Regions from separate parts of the Homo sapiens genome. Here all the other regions are linked to region 2. Evidence: promoter capture Hi-C in 16 types of primary human blood cells and fetal thymus (Javierre and others, 2016). All regions are on one chromosome and are shown on one strand. The core of a region is centred on a gene start or on the middle of the fragment in contact, and the rest is flanking DNA. Distances in the headings are between cores, read along the strand shown. Region 1 holds the start of ZNF154 (zinc finger protein 154). Region 2 holds the start of ZFP28 (ZFP28 zinc finger protein). Region 3 holds the start of ZNF135 (zinc finger protein 135).

Evidence for each region. The method cuts DNA at HindIII sites, captures the fragments that hold promoters and counts their contacts. A CHiCAGO score of 5 or more calls a contact.
Region 1: a contact is called between the fragment with the promoter of ZNF154 here and the fragment with the promoter of ZFP28 in region 2, in 1 of 17 cell types (neutrophils). The highest score is 5.6, in neutrophils.
Region 3: the fragment with the promoter of ZNF135 here is called in contact with the fragment with the promoter of ZFP28 in region 2 in 3 of 17 cell types (fetal thymus, naive CD8 T cells and activated CD4 T cells); the score reaches 6.3 in fetal thymus.

Annotation. Positions count from the first base shown.
Region 1 is chr19:57,706,661-57,711,020 of GRCh38, forward strand. ZNF154 (zinc finger protein 154) reads right to left here and starts at 2,544. Exons shown (of 3, transcript NM_001085384.3): 1 at 2,279-2,544. The coding sequence starts at 2,311. RefSeq lists enhancers at 2,132-2,771, 2,515-2,644, 2,665-2,724. The HindIII fragment of the contact is 9,236 bases long and covers 1-4,360 here.
Region 2 is chr19:56,535,590-56,540,245 of GRCh38, forward strand. ZFP28 (ZFP28 zinc finger protein) reads left to right here and starts at 3,359. Exons shown (of 8, transcript NM_020828.2): 1 at 3,359-3,637; 2 at 4,036-4,127. The coding sequence starts at 3,430. It overlaps ZFP28-DT (ZFP28 divergent transcript), which reads right to left and starts at 3,145. Exons shown (of 3, transcript NR_183967.1): 1 at 2,836-3,145; 2 at 2,062-2,148; 3 at 567-743. The HindIII fragment of the contact is 11,931 bases long and covers 1-4,656 here.
Region 3 is chr19:58,056,874-58,061,027 of GRCh38, forward strand. It overlaps ZNF135 (zinc finger protein 135), which reads left to right and starts at 2,409. Exons shown (of 5, transcript NM_001289401.2): 1 at 2,409-2,437; 2 at 3,096-3,162. The coding sequence starts at 3,130. The HindIII fragment of the contact is 3,956 bases long and covers 1,407-4,154 here.

The DNA of each region.
Region 1 (4,360 bases), core at 1,294-3,793, 1.2 Mb after region 2:
TATCCTCTCCAAACACCCTACCTCCATAGCCACTAACCTCCCTTACCTCTGTTTAGAAAGCCCAAGAATATCACCCACTTATCCAACCAAAAGGCTTGGTCCTTAGCCCCCATTCTGCCCTTCCTGGCCAAATAACCTGTACCACCATGCCTAAAGATTAACCCTTGTAGGCCGGATGCGGTGGCTTACGCCTGTAATCCCAGAACTCTGGGTGGCTGAGGCGGGTGGATCACCTGAGGTTGGGAGTTCAAGACTAGCCTGACCAACATGGAGAAACCCTGTCTCTACTAAATAAATACAAAATTAGCCGGGCGTGGTGGCGCATGCCTGTAATCCCAGCTACTCGGGAGGCTGAGGCAGGAGAATTGCTTGAAGCCGGGAGGCGGAGGTTGTGGTGAGCCAAGCTCGCGCCATTGCACTCTGGCCTGGGCAACAAGAGAGACACTCCATCTCAAAAAAAAAAAAAAAAAATAGAACAACCCTTCTAAATGTAATCCACAGCTCACTCACCTTAGTCCACACAATGACCACCACATTTTGGATGTCTCCATTCTGAAGCACTCCCCAGATTTCCAGACCTGGGTGTTCAGCCACCTACTTAATGCCTACTTAATGTCTCTGAAACATCTCAAACTCTTACATGACCAAATAAAGCTCCTGTTGTCTCCAGTGAATATTACTGTTAATACCAACTTCTCCATCTCAGTTGAAGAACCATGGGGTCATCGCTGAATCCTGTTTCACTCCCTCGCTGTCTACATCAGAAAATTTAGTTGCTCCCTTTAAAAATTTGCATCCAGAATGCAACACATCTCCTAATCAATGACTCTGGTCCATTACCCTGGACTGGCTGTAGCTTCCACTCTGATCTTCTTTCCTCTTCCCTCAACCCCACAGTCTGCTCTCCACGCTAACGGGATGGACCCTGTTAGGACTTTGGTAAGATCACCTCCCTCTTGTAACCCAAATCTCTCATTACCTCCAGAATAGGTACCCAACTTCTCAGGCAGCCACTGCAGTCCTGACTCCTTCCCCCTGCTCTTTGTTCCCAGCTAAAAGGAAACAGATCTATGGTTTCCTCAAAAATCTCAGCTTAGTTTTACTAAGCACTTGCGCCTCCTGATACCAGTGCCAGAGATAACCTTTCACAAGTTTCCACTGGCTGACAAAAATGGGAACACCTCAGTATAACCCCTGTAACCTCTGGCATGGACTTAAGAGCCCTGGGCTTGGAATTTCTCCAGGGCACCAGACCCAGGATTGGGGTAACAGCACTTAAGAATACTAGGAAACCACAATCCCAAGAACATGGGGGTAGAGGCTACTGAGGGACCGAACACTCTCCACTTCCCTATGTGAGTTCCATACGCCCTTCTACAACTGGGAGAACCAGGGAAAGAGGAATGCATCCCTGGTGAGGCTAGATGAGCTCAAGCCTCCCTGTAGCCCTGCCTGGCCCTGAACTCAGGCTGGCTGTTTTACTTTCTGGTCTCAGTGCTGTCACCTCTTGCCAACTGTAGGGCAATGAAAAAAAGATGTAGCCTCCCACTATCTCAATGTCCTCATCGCCCCATCGCTGCTCTTCCTGTGAACAGTCTTTGGAAAAGTTTTTAAACCCTAACATAGGGCGGGCACGGTGGCTCACGCCTGTAATCCCAGCACTTTGGGAGGCCGAGGCAGGAGGATCACTTGTCAGGAGTTCCAGACCAGTCTGGCCAAAATGGTGAAATCCCGTCTCTACTAAAAATACAAAAAATTAGCCGGACGTTGTAATCCCAGCTGCAGGCTTGTAATCCCAGCTGCTGGGGAGGCTGAGGCAGGAGAATCGCTTGAACCCGGGAGTCGGAGGTTGCAGTGACCCGAGATCGCGTCATTGCACTCCAGCCTGGGCGATAAGAGCGAAACTCCGTCTCAAAGAAAAAAAAACTAACATAAATGGCGTCCCTCCTTTGTTCAGAACTCTCCGTGGCTTCTAGCATCCTCACAATGACAGTACAACCCTAGGAGTAACTCCGCCTCATATTCTTCGTTCCCTGCAGAAAACAGCTTTCCGAATTCTCCTGGCTCAGTCGCGCCTCAACCTTTGCACGCGCCGGTTCCTCCGCCTGTCACGCTCTCCCACACCTCGTCACACGCAGTGTCAAAAAAAGGGCCCCACCCACGAACGCCTCAGTGTCCCCGACCCTGGGCAGCGGGGACTCGAGCAGGCGCCCCTCACTGATGGCTTTAGAACGTGGGTGGGGGAAGGTGTGTGAGGACGGGAAGACGCCGCACTCACCTGAGTTGGCGTCCTCAGAGTGGCCGCTGCCATCAGACTCTGCGGGTAGAGCTGGGCCGGGAGCGACGGGCGACATTGGTAGGGACCCGGGGACAGCGGTCCCTATCCCAGGCCTGACGTGGGTCCCCCAGGGCGGCGTCGCCAAGGCTTAGACGCTTTCGTGCAGGAGGGACGACGACTCCCCTCACGCCTTCGTGGCCCCAACTCGGCGCTCTGCTATCTCTGATCCGGTGAACACACCTCAGAGAAGCTAAAATGGCCGCCACGAAGAGGCCCCCCCAAAAGTCCCGTCCTTTCTTTTTGTGACTCTCAAGGAAAGTCGGTTTTCTGAGCTCTTACTGGCTTAGTAGCGTGGCGTTCAACGCAGAGCATTCTAGGTAATGTAGTTTTCATAGATCCCGAGGTGGGTGCCGGGGACCCTTTGCACCAACCTCTTGGAGTAAAAGCGAAGCTCCAGGGCGCTGGGCGATGAGAAATGGCTTATCCAAGTCCTAGGGCAGTGGAGGGACTTCGCCCTTTCTTAAATGGGTCGTAATCAGACAGCATATTAGAGGTGCCATCTGCAACTGATCACCCAAGTGTTTGGGGAATATTATTTCAAACTTCATAAAGTTCAGCAGGCTCCCAGAGGCTAAAATTATTATCAGACGCTCCCTAAGGCTGCCAATCCAAATATGTACATCATTCCATAGAGCCATTCAGACACGAAATATATCCACTAGTAGGGAAGCTAATAAACATTACCATATAAGTTTATTCCTTTTTTTTTTTTTTTAAGACAAAGTTTCCCTCTGTCCCCCAGGCTGGAGTGCAGCGGCGCCATCTGGGATCACTGCAACCTCCGCCTCCCGGGTTAATCGATTCTCGTGCCTCAACCTTCCAAGTAGCTGGGACTATAGGCGCGCGCCACCACGCCAGGCTAATTTTTTGTATTTTCAGTAGAGACAGGGTTTCACTATGGTGGTCCCAAATTCCTGGCCCCAGGTGATCTGCCCGCCTCGGCCTCTCAAAGTGCTGGGATTACAGGCGTAAGCCACCGTACCCAGCCTCTATCATATTACATTTCAAATGTATGCACTCCGAAGCATTGAAGTCAGTCTGTGCACTTTTGGTCAGGGACAGGTGAAAAACTACTTCAGATAGTGGCATGATAGTGCTTCTAGAAGATAGAAGAGAAATGTTAGATCACCTTGAAACAGTAGTACAAAGGTAGAATTCTGTCTGATTCCAACAGAAAACATCTTTTGCCTGCATAGTCAATTATTGTGTCCAATTACTGTGTCCAGTCAATAACTGTGTCCAATTCACTGAGCAACGCTTTTATCCATTTCATAATTCTTACTTGATATCTGAGATATATTCCTTCTAGAAGTCTAACATCAATCTCAAAAAACAATGAAAGAAATGCTACTTTGATAAGAGACAAAGGGGAGAGGTGGGACTTCTTAATCAGAAAGCCGGTGAAATGCACTTGAAGGAAGTGAGAAATGAGCCATGTGGGTATTTTTAGAATAAATTCCAGGCAGAAGAAGCAGGTTACTAGAGTGCCTGGATGGATGGAGACTTCACAGGGCATTTCAGCATTGGAGGGCCTAGGGCTCCAACCCAGCAGGCCTTCATCTGCTTTGCTGGCTGCAGAGACACTCAGGGTATATAGGTGAGAAATCTCTTCTTTTTTTTTTTTCTTTTTTTTTGAGATGGAGTTTCACTCTTATTGCCCAGGCTGGAGTGCAATGACGCAGTCTTGTTTCACTGCAACCTCTCCACCTCCTGGGTTCAAGCGATTATCTTGCCTCAGCCTCCCAAGTAGCTGGGACTACAGGCGCACGCCATGACACCCAGCTAATTTTTGTATTTTTAGAAGAGACGGGGTTTCACCATGTTGGCCAGGCTGGTCTCGAACCACTGACCTCAGGTGATCCACGCATCTCGGCTTCCCAAAGTGCTGGGATTACAGGCATGAGCCACCGAGCCTGGCCGAGAAATCTCTGCTGCTTTGTTATAAAGTTTTGGAGCCGCAAAATAAATAGCACTCGAATATAAAATTTTCTTTTTAATTCTCAGCAAGGTAATGTACTTTTT
Region 2 (4,656 bases), core at 2,109-4,608:
TTCCCAAATCAAATGTCATTATGTTGTACATTCTGTTTGTTAAACATCTGACACCTAAGCATATGACATCCTTTCTTTGTGCTATAAATTTTATTTTTGCCTATTGTGAGTATATATTACTCTTTATACTGAATTTTTAAAAAAATTAATAAAACAATTTATAAATATGGCAAATGTGAAGATTGGCAGTAGTTCATAAGTTGTATCAGCTTAATCTAAATGATTCAGCCGGGAGATTATTCATCTTTCTTGTTGGTTTCTGTTTTTCAAAAAGCTATAGTTTTGGGTTTATAAAAAAAGCACAGTGTAACTCCTGGTGGTTAAGATGAGATATTTTGTCAACTTCCTGCTGCAGGAGAACTTAATAATGAAATTATTCTTATAGCTCTCTAAAAATTTGGATATATTGAAATATTTTTCTTCATAATTCTTTAGTGTGCTTCTGTTGCTTCTCTGCTAAATATGAACAAGGACGCATATAGCCCCATATAATAGGAAAATAGGATATAGCAGTCATTTGAGGATAAGTGACTGCTACAATAAGATAAAAAAGGTATTGTCAACTCTGTCAATAAAGAAGATAGATTTTATTGCCTTCTCAAGTAACAGCTTCCCATGTAGGTAGGTAGCAGGTCAAGGCAAGAAGACAGCTTTGCTCCATGATGTCATCAAAGGACCTGGTTCCTTCTATGCCATTTCTCCATCAACTCAGGATGCTGTCTTTATCCACATAGGTGATGCCTCTACATTCCAGAACATGAAAGTATTCTGACATATCTTCCTTGGACATGACATATTTTTCTATGTATTGCTGGACTTTGTTTATTGTCACTTTAGGTAGGATTTTAATGTGTATGTTGTCCCTGAAGATTGGAATTCTTTCCCTACTTAAATTCTTTCCCTACTGTCCTTGTCCAGTTTTGGTATCAAGGGTGTCTAGTTTTAAATTCTCCAGTATAGTTTTATAGGATAAGGATTATTTATTGCTTTGGTATTCATGGAAAAGCCTGAGAACTTATTTAATGATTTTCCATTTCTTCTTGAGTCAGTTTTGGTACTTATAATTTTCTCTATGGTAAGCCCCTGCATATGTTTTAAATATATTGAGATAAGGTGATCACAGTATTTGCAAAATTCTAAAAATTTCTGTGATTATGTCCACTTTTTCATTTCTAATACCATTTCTTTGATTGTTTATTTCTCTTTTTTTCTGCTAAGCCATCTTTAGCATAACTTTCATCCTCATGATGCCAAGGTGGCTGTTTGCAGCGGACCCTATCCTTGTTGGACTGAACAAAGGATGACAAACATGGGAATAAAGACAAAGACAAAAGAGTATATTTGGAAGAAGAGGTCTGGGGGCTCCTTGCTTCCAGTGAACACAGGCCCTGAGCCTTTACAGCCCTTCGTATTTATTAGAGTGAATAGGGAGAAGGGGGGTGGTTGTCGGTCAGTAGCTTGATTTACAGCAGGCTTGCAAGACTGCATTCGTCAACCAATAGGCTCTAGATGTCCCATTAGATAACCTCAAGGAGCATGACACCAGGGAGTGATTGCCTTCAGCAAACCTTCTGGTGGCTGGAGCAGAAGCGACTTTGCCCACATTCTGCATTCATGATAAACAGTTTGCTGTTTGATCATATAGCCTCCAGTGGAATGTTGAGTTGGCCACGATCCCTTTGCCAGCTCTCTACAGCTGTTCTACCTGTTGACATCCTGTGTCATACCCAAGCAGGAAGAAGGTTGTGTGAGATGACAAAAGGCCAGAGTTACATGCCAGCTGTGTCTCTTTCCACACATCCACCAAACCCCCAGCAAATGTGTACTTAAAATTCATTGGTTACAGAGCCACTACTCCTTACAAGGAGACTGGGGAGGTGAGTATTATAAGCTGGGCAGATGGCCACTTGAAGAGCATCAATGTTCTGCTGTGGAAGGAGTGCAAAATAGACACCAGAGAGACCATTAGCAGTGTCTGCCACAGCTATTACATGGCTAGGTCCACCTGACTGAAACTAAGCCTTTTCTATGAGACTGAAGTGCTTTGAGAGAAATGCTGACCTTGTCCTTTCTGCAGCTTGCGGCTTTCAGTCACCCTTGGATTCAGAGATAGAAGTCATCTTAATTCCATCACTGAGGCCAGGAGACCTGAAAGAAATCAATTCAAGAGTAAGGAGACCAGGCGTGCAGTGTGACTGGGCGTGCAGAGGTCAGTGCATCTGTGATGACTGGTGTAACAGCATCACTGCCTGTGAGCCAGCAAGGCCCTTGGCTCCCAGGATGAAGCTCTCCAGTTCTGATAAGGCCCCTGGGGGAGAGACCGGTCCTAAACATGTTCAAGAATAAATCCATCAGCTAACTTCAGACCGTGATTCACACAGGAAGGGAACTTTAAGAGGTCGCCAGGGCTGGTATTTTTGAGACGTTAGGCAGCCCTCTCTGAGGCGATGACAAGTGAATGGCATAAAGGAGCCAGCCCAGACGAAAATTTGGGGTTAGACTATTTCGACCCAGGACGTGCAAATACATAGGTTACAAAATGGAAAATGGTATTTTGGAGGATGGGAGGCCCGTGTAGCCAGAGATAATGGGAGAAGGTGAGGGGGCACCCAAAACAATCCCACAAGCTCTCTACATCCCCCTTCCTAGCCCACACACATCACCCATCAGAGTGATCCTCCGGACTCCGGAGGCCCCCAAGATTGCCTTTCCCTTCCCGGTCGGCAGTGACGCTCCCGCAAGGAGCTGACGCCCAGGCCCTTAGCACCTGTCACAGCCAAGCACCCTTTTACTCCGGCCCTGCGGTCCCACCCCTCGCCGCAAGCCCCGCCTCACCCGGTCTGCCGCTGCGCCTGCGCGACTCCCAGAAGCCTTTGGGGGGTGGGTGTGTAGTCAGAGCGGCCTCTGCTTCCGGCCACACCCAGGCCCAGCGTTGGCCACCACTTATGCGGCGGCTGCGGTCCAGGGACAAGTGAGAGCGACCCGCAGAGGGCAGGACGGACGGGCGTTGCATAGGCCCGGGGCCAAACCGTATCTTGCAACCTGAGCTCCGAGGGCCGCCGCATCCGTCCCTGCTTGGGACTACGCTTCCCAGCGGGCATTGCGCCGAGGCCACGCCCGGTTCCGGCGGCGCTGCCTGCGCACTGGAAGTGGGAAGCGCCGGGCTTCTCTAGGCTGAGGGGCGGGGCGGGGCGGGGCGGGGCGGGGCGGGGCGGGGCGGGGCGGGGCGGGGCGGGGCGGGGCAGCGGGGAGGGGTGGGGAGGGGCGGGGCGCGGCCGGGGGCGGGGCGGCTCCGCGGCGCGGCCCAGTGGATGCCGGGCCATGGGGGAGCGCGCGCGGGGCTGTTCGCTGGGCGTGGCGGGCGGGTGTGGCCAGGGGTGTGGGTCTGTGAGGGACCGGTCGGAAGGGCGTCGCGCGGCCTCGGGTGACATGCGGGGGGCGGCGAGCGCGAGTGTCCGCGAGCCGACGCCGCTCCCGGGTAGAGGCGCCCCCCGCACAAAGCCCCGGGCGGGCCGAGGCCCGACTGTAGGGACTCCAGCCACCTTGGCCCTCCCTGCCCGGGGAAGGCCGCGCTCAAGGAATGGCCTCGCATCCAAAGGCCAGCGAGGAGCGGCCCCTACGGGGCCTGGGCACAGAGGTGAGAGTGACAGGTGTTTGGGGCCGAGCGGACAGGGACGAATTCATCTCGGGATGAGATCTGGGAGGGGGTTGGGCTCTCGGGGACCAGTTGCTGGAGAACTGTGCCCCTGGTCTTTGAAGCTGGTGGAGTGGGAGAATCTGAAGATTTGGAAGCTCAACTGATTCAGAGCAGCAAGCCGCGGTAAAAGGGTGTTGACTTTCCCAGGGTGACTCTAACTAGACGCTTTTCCTGTTTTCGTGCTCCCAGGGAGGAAAAAAACCTATCTCCACGTTGTGGCAGTCCCTAGGCAGGGTAATGATCTGATCCCACCTTTTCATGCAGGAAGGGACGTTTCTAGGCTGGTGATTTGGGACTGTGGTGTAGACCTGGTCTCTAGCTACTCCTTTCTCTTTCAGCTCTGCCTTCCAGGGACACTGCTCTTCCCCAGGAGAGAAACAAGAAGCTGGAGGCTGTGGGGACAGGAATTGAACCTAAAGCCATGTCCCAGGTGAGTTGGCATTTCATCTCTTGTCTCTGAAATGCAGTCTTGCTTTTCGGGACTTAATGTTGCTTATTTTCTTGAAAGTTTTCAGTTTAAGAGACCTGTTTGGGCGCGGGTTTCTATTTCTTCACGTTCTAGTGAAGTGATGGGCTACGGGGAAAAGTTTAAACTGCCCGGGGCCTCGATGCCTGCTTCTTCTTCATCCCAATCAGCCTTCATTCTTGATTGATGAAATGATTCAGCCTCTCCCTTGTACCGCTTTTCTCAGAGGGACTCTGATGGAGGAATTGTGCCCCTTGAGGAACACGGCAGACTCTTCTGCTATACATGGTTTGTTTGGTGACCACTTTGTGCCAGCCACTGAGCAAACCAATAGCTAAGCCCTAGTCCCTGCTCTGGAGCTCACAGCCTGTTGACCCAATGTCAAGGAAACAAGCAAGATTCTAGAATGTGATCATCCTTGGGCCAAGTATTATGAGCGAGGACTACAAGGCGCTCCTGGCTTCCAGCCTCCTGTAGCGGAAGGGTAGGCCTA
Region 3 (4,154 bases), core at 1,159-3,658, 1.5 Mb after region 2:
AGCTGCTGCAACTCACGAAAGCCACCACGTGGTGTTCTTCACCTAACTTGCCCAGTCCCAAGCCCCTGCCCGAGCTGCAGTGAGACAGAGCACTAGCCCCTCTCTTCTCTTTGGGTTCACCCCAGCTGTGGAAGCCCCAGCACCTCAGCACGCCTCCCTTGCCCTGTGCCTTCCTCTGCCAGCACCCCCCAAAGACTCCAACACCCCCATCACGATGTGCCCCAGTCTCCTGTCCTCCAGCCCTTGTCACAGGAGCTGTGAGCCCAGCCCTGGGCACTTCACGCTCTGGAAGACCGGAGTCTCAGACGCCACCTTTCTCCCTGGCAGCCAGGGTCTCTTGGGTCAGAGGAGGCCTGGACACTGCCAGGTTTTGAAGCTGTCAAAAAGATTTTTTTTTTAAAGGGAGAAATATGTCCAGGGAGCTGTAACTGTTACAGTATATTTTAAATGTATGTGTTGAACAGATTAACTTTTTGAACATTAACATACAGCATGACACAGTTCTGCTATCCATGCTGTGATTGCAGGATTGCTTGGAAGCTGTACTGATGTGCAGCCCACCTGCTCATGGTGGGGGGTCCTGTTCCAGGCCACAGAGAGGCAACCAGCAATGCTCTGCTTGGAGATTCGTACAGGAAGCCAAGAAGGAGCTGAGAGGGGCCCAGCCAGTGGTTACAAGAGACAGCAGGAGGTTCAGACCACAGCAAGGGTGGCACTGGAGTAGCCTCCAGCTCATCTTATTTGACTGGTAGAGTGTTATTAAAGCCTTTGAAATCCCTACCAGCTTTTAAAAATCAAGAGATTTCACATAGAAATCCTGATCTCTGGGTTCTTTAGAGAAATCCAGACCTGGGACGCTGGGCTTGCCAGTCCGCACGACCCCACTTGGCTGGAGCCAAGCAGCACTTGCCCCTGTAGAAAGAGCCCGCCCCTGCAAAAGCATGTACGGTTTAGAAACCTGGCTGAGAAAAACAGAGGATCAGAAGGTCTGAGGGAGGAAACAGAGGGGCAAGTTTGAGGGAGCTGGGCAGGGCCGCCTGGCCACCATCAGGGCTGAGCAGGCTCAGTGTGGCACCACTGACAGCTTCTCACCAGGACTATCAGACCGCTTGGGAAAAAGACTTCACCATGAGTTGTGTGTTCATACCTTTTGATCCAGTAAAAGGAAACGGTTGGGGGTGGGGGTGGGGGGCAAGAGTATACATTTTGTGAAAGAAAAAATACACAAAAAGATGTTTTGTGGCATTTGGGTTTGTGAGTTCGAGAACTGAAAAACGGCATTTTATGTATAATGGAAAGCCTCTTTACTGCTGTAGAGTGAAAAGCAGGCTGGCTTTCAGTGCGACGGTCACAAATGTGGGGCTTTACAGTACTTGGAATGTACAGGACGCCCTTAAAAGCCAAGAAGCTTGCCTTTGCTTTGTTTACATCAGTGCATTATGATTTTGAGCCATTATATCTCTTCATAATTGCCACTGTTTTAGGGCTTATGAAATTTAAAGTCTTAACTTGTGTGTTAACCAGCCAAATCTTTGCAAGTGTCTGTGTGTGGTACGAGAATTCGTATTGTGTTCTCTGCTGTTTTCAGAGTTGTTTCAGTCAAAGAAAAAAAAATGCCCGTCTTAAAACTTTTCCTCTGCTTCAAATACAGCTCCCAAGCCCAGGCTGATTGGAATTAATCTGTCCTCCCTTAAAAGGGCAAAAGCACAAGGCTCAGCCCTGGCTTTCCCAGCTCCTCTGGTCTCGCTGCTCCACGGACGTGTGACGTACGCTGGTGAAACGAAGCCCGCTTGAATGGGGGCTTCACTATTGTGTGCTGCTGAACCTAGGCCTAGCGCCTGGCAGGCTTTGGTGAATGTTCAGAAAATGACAATTCATTTCGTGTCAGCGAGGGCACACCAGCTTTGAATATTTTGCTGCTGTTCAAATGCACAATTTTGACAATTACCTAGCAATGTCCAAAGTCGTCATAATTGTTAGTGTCTTGCACGTGATGTTCCTTATAACCATGTAATAAATACAGTGTGAAGTCTCCATGGCTGCCTCAGTGTGGAAAATGCAAAGACTCCCGTGTGTGCGATCTTGGTGAATGTTTTGGTTGAAAGTATGTGTTTTGAAAAAATCATTGCTTTGTTTGCAGCAGTAAAACTGACGGTAGAGTTTCCAACACGAAAGCCCGTGTGGTCGCGCCGGGAGCTCACGGCGTTCCAAGCGGCACTTATCCCGCGTTGATGCCCAGGCACCCCGCGCGCCCTGTTTCACCAGGCCCAGTCACTCCAGCTCCAGCAGCACTGAGAGCTCACGAACGCCAAGGGCGAGAGCGAGGTGGGGGAGGGCGGCCGGAAATGCGCGCGCGGCTCTCTGGGAAATGGAGTTAGGCTCGCGCCGGCGCAGTGTCGGCTGCCGGTGCCGCGGCCTTTGTCTCGCAGTCAGGAGGGTGAGCTAGGCCGGCGAGGAGGGGGAGGGGAGGCCAGGCCGGGCCGGGCCGGGCCGGGTGCGGGGGGTCCGGGGATCTTCCTGAGGCCCTGGCGGGGCGAGTTTCCAGCAGCGCGCGTCTGTGTGGAGTCCGTTTTGCTGCCCGGGGCCTGGGGAAGGCCGTTTCGGGGCTGGCGGGGGCAGGCTTTGCGGGGCATCCCTAGTCTGAGAGGAGGGCGGGGCCCAACGCCCAGCTGGACAGGAGCTGCTCCGACGGCCCCTGAGGGAACGCGCGCCCCGCCCCTGGCCCCACCTCTGCCCCACACCGGGCACTGGGCCGCCACCTTTGTTGATGGAAGAGAGAAACTGAGGCATAGTGCCCAGGGCCAGGGGACCGCAACCACCCGGCCCTTGTCACTGTAGCGTTAAGGCTCAGAGTCTGCGCAGCAGATATGTGTCCGCACCCGCCAGGCCTTCAGCTTCCCTCAGACAGGCGGGAAAACCCTAGGCTGCCCTTCTCCGAGCGGAGGGCCGCCCCACACACAGCAGGCGCTTAAACGGGTACGCGGGGCCCTGGACGGCTCTCCGCGGAGCTCCCCAGGCTCTGGCGCAGTTCCCCGGCTTGGGGACCTGAGCACCGCCTCTGCCTGCCCCAGCTGCTCACCTCCCCTTTCCCACAGAGCAGGGCCAGCCGTTCCTGCCAGAAGCCAGGGCATGACCCCTGGGGTGCGCGTCTCCACAGACCCGGTGAGAATCTCGGCCTCCTTGCGCGTGTCCTCCACCTCGTGCCCGGCCTCCTCGCGCGCGGCCTTCTCACGCCCGGCCTCCTCTTTGCACCCCGTCCCTACTCGCGCTCAGCCTCCTCCTTGTGCCCGGCCCCTACTTGCGTGCCCGGCCCCTACTCGTGCCCGGCCTCTACTCGCACAACTGGCCTCTACTCGCGCACCTGGCCTCTACTGGTGCCCGGCCTCTACTCGTGCCCGGCCTCTATTTGCACATCTAGCCTCTACTCGTGTCCGGCCTCTACCTGCACACCCGGCCTCCTAAAGTCCGCGCCAAGCTCCCCAACCACAGCCTGCCTCTGAAAGGACCGCCCACGCCGCGCTGGAGGTCAGCGGGCACGGGTCCCTGTCTGAGTGGGCTTTATGTTTGTGCGGCCGTCATTGCATACCTGAGGCTGGGTGATGTCAGAAAATTGTAGGTGCCCCGGCTCTGCAGTCTGAAGTTGAAGGCCTTAGCATGCTCTGCGCTCCAAGATGGCGCATCGAGTGCCGCTTCCTCAGACGTCATGGAGGCCAAGGGGGCGGAACTCGCCTTTTTATGATGACATTAACCCCACCCATAAGCCACCAGAAGAAACCAGCCTCCTGTAGGAATGTCAGAAAACCCGTACAAGGGGACTGGTGCGATGGCTTGTAGCTGTAATCCCAGCTATGGGGGAGGATTGCTTGAGCCCAGGAGTTGGAGGCTGCAGTGAGCCATGATGTGCCACTGCACTCCAGCCTGAATGACAGTGGAACCCTGTCTCTAAAAAATTAAAAAACAAACCCAGATTTGGCCGGGCGCGGTGGCTCGCACCTGTAATCCCAGCACTTTGGGAGGCCGAGGTGGGCGGATCACGAGGTCAGGAGATCGAGACCATCCTGGCGAACACGGTGAAACCCCGTCTCTACTAAAAATACAAAAAAAAATTAGCCGGGGGGGTGGCGGGCGCCTGTAGTCCCAGCTACTCGAGAGGC